Linked DNA regions of Homo sapiens: region 1 is linked to region 2. Evidence: promoter capture Hi-C in 16 types of primary human blood cells and fetal thymus (Javierre and others, 2016). All regions are on one chromosome and are shown on one strand. The core of a region is centred on a gene start or on the middle of the fragment in contact, and the rest is flanking DNA. Distances in the headings are between cores, read along the strand shown.

Region 1 (3,070 bases), core at 67-2,566, 640 kb before region 2:
TTTGGGATTACCCTGTACTTAATTTTGAGTGAAAGAGTTAGTGATTTCATCTGATTACCACCAGGGGGCATGTACTCATAATTTCCCATTTCTGCTCACTGTTCCAGATCTCAGGATCTTCACTGAGTGTCCTGAGTGATAAATACATGAGTGTCACTGTTACAAGTATTACACTCATGTATTTATCTCATATTGTCTTCTGAATTATAATGCCATTTACCCACATTATTGATGGACTTAAAAATATTAATACGCAGCCTCACTGGTAAATGTCTTTATTTTGGTTTTTAAGAATTTTTTTTATTTTATTATTATTATTTTTTTTTTTTTTGAGATGGAGTCTCTGTCACCCAGGCTGGAGTGCAGTGGCGTGAACTTGGCTCACTGCACTCCCCACCCGCTGGGTTCCAGCAATTCCTCTAGCTCAGCCTCCTGAGTAGCTGGGATTACAGCCACCCGCCACCATGCCTGGCTAATTTTTGTATTTTTTTAATAGAAATGGGGTTTCACTATGTTGGCCAGGCTGGTCTCAAACTCCTGACCTCAAGTGATCTGCCCACCCTGGCCTCCCAAAGTGCTGAAATTACAGGCGTGAGTCACCAGGCCCAGCCTGATTTTAAAGAATTAGATTGAATTAAACATAAGCTCATGGTTGTCTCATGATGCTATTAAGCAGACGATGATTATCTCACTGTTCACTTTTAGTTAATTTATTAAAATTTTTTTTTGTGTCTGCATTTTAAAAAATTGGTAACATAGTTCTACATATTTTCAGGGGTATATGTGATATCTTGATACATATATAGAACATGAAATGATCAAATCAGGATAATTGGGATATCCATCACCTCAAACATTTATCTTTTCTTTGTGTTGGGAACATTACAATTCTTCTCTTCTGGTTTTTTGTTTCTTGTTTTTTTTTTTTTTGGAGACGGAGTCTCACTCTGTCACCCAGGCTGGAGTGCAGTGGCGTGATCTCATCTCGCTGCAACCTCCGCCTCCTGGGTTCAAGTAATTCTCCTACCTCAGCCTCTCAAGTAGCTGGGATTACAGGTGCATGCCACCACTCCCAGCTAGTTATGTATTTTTAGTACAGACAGGATTTCACCATGTTGGCCAGGCTGATCTGGAACTCCTGACCTCAGGCAATCTGCCTGCCTCAGCCTCCCATTCTTCTAGCTATTTTGAAATAAATAATAAAATTATTTAGAAAAATTTTAATAAACCTTATTTTGTAGAGCAGTTTTAGGTTCACAGCAAAACTGAGCAGAAAGTACAGAGAGTTCCCATATAGCCCCTGCCCTGCCCACACACAGACTTCCCCACTGACAACATCCTGTGCCTGAGTGGTACATTTGTTATAATCAGTTAACCTATGTCAACACATGCTGTCACTCAGAGTTTATAATTTACATCAGTGTTATATATTCTTAGTATTACACATTCTGTGGATATTGACAAATGTGTAATGACGTGCGTCCACCATTGTAGCATCATACACAATAGTTTCACTACTCTAGAAATCCTCTGTGCTCCAGTTATTCATCCCTACCTCCCTCTAAGCCCTGGCAACCACTGATCTTATTACTTCCCCCAGTCACATTTCCTCCATGTCATTTTATGGCTTTATCAAGCTCATTTCTTTCCAGTGCTGAATAATATTCCATTGTCTGGATGAACCAAAGTTTATCCATTCACCTACTGAAGGACATCTTGGTTGTTTCCAAGTTTTGGCAATTATTAAAGCTGTTATAAACATCTCTCCCTTTTTATACATTATAGTCTCACCACAGGAGATGTAGTGCAGCTGGCTCTGCTGGCTTCTAATTTCACCAACTTGGTCAAAAATTACTTAATATTGAAGTTTTATTTACACATGTTATATTCAGCATGTAAGAATCCTGAAACCTAAATTTCCTTGGAATATCTTTCAGATGGGTTTTATAGGCAAGTGAATCAAATCAGTGGAGCTCACAATACCTCAGACAAGCAAACCCCTTCAAAACCCAAGAAGAAACAGAATTCAAAAGGACTTGCTCCTTCTGTGGTAAGGTTTTACAGATGTATACATGTGTGCAGATCTTATCTGTAGGATAGAATAAATGGGAGGCTATTGATTAAGTGAATGAGAATCTTCATGATTCTCATTTGATATCAGTGGTTTATTGCTTATTCAGTACCTACATTTGTGGTTCTCAAATTTTAATTTTTGGTTCTTCTGAATTATAATGCCATTTACCTATATTATTGATGGAATTAAAATATATGTAGCCTCGTTGATAAATATCTTTAAATTTATTTTGGTTTTAAAGAATTAGATTGAATTAAACATAAGATGTTGTCTCATGCCATTAAGCAGAAAGTGGTTTTTTTTTTTACAATTTCAATATCTACATTTTAAAAAATTGATAACATAATTTTACATATTTTGGGGGGTACACTATGTATAATGATCAAATCAGGGTAATTGAGATAGCCATCACTTCAAATACTGTGTGCATCAGAGTTGCCTGAGGCACATGTTGAAAATTCACCTTACTCATCCCTAAAAATCTCTCTACACACACAGACACAAACACACACACACAAACACACCCCTATAGTATAGTGGAATTCATTAGGAAAAGTGGGGGAGGAGTAGTTTGAAGAAGCATATTAAGTACTGTGATGCAGTTTTCTAAGGGGAAAGAATACCTGTTGTTTTCGTAATACAAACTACAGAAAAATATGTTTTTTGTTTTGAGACAGAGTCTCGCTCTGTCACCCAGGCTGGAGTGCAGTGGCGCAATCTTGGCTCACTGCAAGCACCGCCTCCCAGGTTCACACCATTCTCCTGCCTCAGCCTCCCAAGTAGCTGGGACTACAGGTGCCCACCACCACGCCCAGCTAATTTTTTGTTTTTTTAGTAGAGACGGGGTTTCACCGTGTTAGCCAGGATAGCCTCAATCTCCTGACCTCGTGAGCCTCCCAAAGTGCTGGGATTACCGATGTGAGCCACCACGCCTGGCCAGCTTATTTTTAAGCATTTGACAAAATATTGTTAAATATATTGAGAAACACATGGGTA
Region 2 (3,202 bases), core at 391-2,890:
TTGATAAACAAAACCAGAACATTACAGGGGAACATGTGGTTAGAAGACAGCTCTTTAGCTTTAGAATCACACAGATCCTAGTTTTGTCTCTTAGTGTCAACATGGTCTTGTGTAAATGGTTTAAATTCTCTAAATTTTCAGTTTTCTCATTTATTGTAAGCATAATTCATTCATTCTTTCAATATGTATTAACTGAGCACCTACCATGTGCCAGACACTGTTCTAGACACTGGGGATACAAGCCCTAAACAAAGGGTCAGTGAACTCTGCAGACTTGGTGCTAACAGCCTAATGCTTAGGATTGGGATGCGATGAAATGAGATTTTGTCCTAAAGCTCCCAGCATACAGTATGCCCTCAAGAAGTTACCTGCCTTTGTTGAAGTTGCTACTTTAAAAAAAAATGTATTCTGCATAGTGCTTCTCATGCCTCTTTGCTCTCTGTAATCAAAAAGTCACTAGCACAAGAAAGCAGCCTGCATACTGCCCTCGGGGAGCTGACTCTAAACTGGACTCATCACCATGATCACACCTGCCAACCCAGCAGAAACATTTAATCAAGACAGAAAGAGGTGAGCGAAAGTTAGAGATAGTATTATGTTATTAACCATATCTGATTCAGTCTCAAAAATCCTGAGAGGTTGATGTTACTATATTCATTTTACAGATGGGGAAATGGACGGTCCGAGAGGTTAAACAAATTGCTCAAGGCTGCTCAGCCTGTGTGTGGCAAAGCCCAGGCCCAAACTCAGATCTCTGTGACACTCCAGCGACACCTGATGACATGGGCCGGGCGCTGAATTGGGAAGGTGGGGAGTAAGGATGAAAAGACCCAGTCTTCGTCGTAAGGCAGGTGGCCAAGACCCAGGCAAAGTTTCCAGACGGCCGTCCCTGTGGCCAACCTGGTCTCCTTCCTGACTGCGCCGCTGTAAACGTTGCTAGGGGACAGCGAACTGGGAAGGGGCAAAGGGTTTCCACCAGCTGGGGGCGGAGTCGGCCCTTTGTGGGTTCCCTCCGCCCAGGCTGACTAGTCCGGCGTTCTCCATTCCCGCGGCAGCACCCCCCCCACCCGGGGGAATCCTGGAGGGGCTACAGGCGCGGGTGGTGGGGTGGCAGTCGCTGGCTGCGCCAGGATGGGGCGGCCCTCAGGGCAGTGCGGAGCCCACGTGCCGGGGAGCACCGGCCATGCCCGGCCCAGCCAGGCGTCGGCGCCCTCGGGCTTCTTCCCCCAGAGGGCGCAGGAGCTGGCTCAGGAGCCATTCCAGGAGCCGCGGACACTGTGCGCACGACAGGGTCCCTGGATCGCCCCCATTCCCCAACATCCCTACGCCCCTACCTCTGCTTGTCTCCGGCCGCACCCGCCACCTCTGCACCTCCGCAGTCACCACCACGGAACTCCAGCACCCACCTCCTCGCCCCCCGCGGCGCGCCGGTCCCCGCACCCCACGGCCCTCCCTGAGCCTCTCGCCCTCTACCTGCTGCTGCGGCTGCGGCTGCGGCTGGTTCCCGGGCGCCGCGACGCTCCTCTGCAGGACGCTGCCGGCGGCCGGGAGCCCTTGCGACATGCCGGGCGCTCCTCTGGCCCGGCCCGCCCCGCCCCGCCCGCGCGCCCTGCCCGTGGGGCTGCCTACGGGCGCTGTCCCGCCGCCGGCATCCTCGTGCCGCACCCACGGCCTCGCGCCGGCCCCGCCCCCTCAGGCTTCCCGCTCTCCCCGCTACTCCACGCGTCGGCCCAGTGTCCCCGCGCGCCAGTCCCGGCAGCCGTCCTTCCCGTCCCACGTCTGCCCCGCCCTCCTTCTCCCACCCCCGCCTCGTTTCCTCCTCTGCCCGCCCTCTCTCCGCACCTCGGGGTCCCAAATCCCACCCCTGCCGCGGCTTTCCGCCGGCGCCCCGCGCTTCGTGGAAGTCACGTGGTGGCTCTGAAACCCCGGAGGGAACGCGAAGCCCACCCACGCGAGGCGACGCCCGGGGGGGTGGGGACCAGGGGGGCGCCATGCAGCCTTTGGGGTCCTTCGGCGGCTGCCGGGGAACTCAGGTTGAGAAACACAGTGGGTGTTTTGGGGTCGGTGTTTTTTCCCGGTCCCATCGCGGCATCTTCCTGCGCCTCAGCCACGCCCTGCGTCCGCCCCCCGGCGCGGGGGTCACAGTCCCGGGGGACTTTCTCCGCGGCGATCAGTCATCCGGGCGCCACTCTCGCTCCTCCAGCGGCCCCGAAGCCGCGGCTCTGGGGTGAAGACGCCGGCTTCACCGAGTCCCACCGCGCACCCCGAGCCACGGGCGCCCCAGGGACTCTGCAGGGAGTGCCTGCCCTTCCCGTCTCGGGTCCGCCGGGCTGTGGGAGGGAACGAGGCGGGGCGGCCCCGAGGGTGAATTCCCGGAGCGGAGGGTGGGCATGGGGAGGATGTCCCGGACAAAAACGGTGACGGGCTTCCCTGAGAGCGAATCTGCCACGTGGGACGTCACTAGTGACAGGTTTGGGGATCTGGACCCGCCATGCCACGGTTAAACGGCCCAGATCATTTTTCTTTTTCAAGATTTATCTGCTCGTGCCAAGCTGGGGACCGGGTTGAGGTAGGGCAAGTCCCTGTCCACCTGCCTGCCAGTCAAAAGATGCGAAGCCAAGACAATTACCCGTGGTCCTAGCGAAGGAAACACTAGCGGCCACAGGCTGTGGTCTGCATGCTGTGAGCACCGGGAAAGATAACCGCGATTCGGGATGGGCGGGTGGGAACCAGACCAGAAGGGCAGAAGTGCCTACCAAGTGTGGTCGCTTGGGTCTTCAGGTTTGTGGGCAGCAGTGGGCATGGGGACAGTCATTTCCGATTCCTTTTTAAGTCTTAAATGAGTGCACGTGCCCCCCGCCAGGATTTAAGACCCACTCTTGCAAAAGCTTTGAGAGAGCTTGAGTGAACTTGGCTGCCTGGAGGCCAGCGGGAAAGCGAGCGGAGATTCTTGTCTGTGTGATCAGAAGCTTCGGCCAACTGAGAGGCGGGGAGGAAGACGGAGGGTGGACGCAGCCCTTTAGAGTTGCAGCGCCACACTCCACAGCAGCAAGGCTGCGCAGCAGAGCCAGCGCTACGCTGGGTTATCTGCCCGGATTAATCTTTTCCTCTCCGTTATTTCATCACTCAGCTTAACTGGTGGTTGCCCCAGGACTATTTTGCATCCCACAAGGTACCCACACAAGGTGCCTAGCATAGCACG

Evidence for each region. The method cuts DNA at HindIII sites, captures the fragments that hold promoters and counts their contacts. A CHiCAGO score of 5 or more calls a contact.
Region 1: a fragment that was not itself captured here is called in contact with the fragment with the promoter of BATF3 in region 2 in 1 of 17 cell types (M2 macrophages); the score reaches 6.7 in M2 macrophages.

The regions. Positions count from the first base shown.
Region 1 is chr1:212,062,980-212,066,049 of GRCh38, forward strand. DTL (denticleless E3 ubiquitin protein ligase adapter) reads left to right here. Exons shown (of 15, transcript NM_016448.4): 7 at 1,938-2,050. Among named protein-coding and RNA genes, the nearest start is that of MIR3122, 13 kb to the right of the region's middle. The HindIII fragment of the contact is 6,737 bases long and covers 1-3,070 here.
Region 2 is chr1:212,698,200-212,701,401 of GRCh38, forward strand. BATF3 (basic leucine zipper ATF-like transcription factor 3) reads right to left here and starts at 1,641. Exons shown (of 3, transcript NM_018664.3): 1 at 1,474-1,641. The coding sequence starts at 1,563. RefSeq lists silencers at 939-1,388, 1,579-1,658. The HindIII fragment of the contact is 2,939 bases long and covers 1-2,886 here.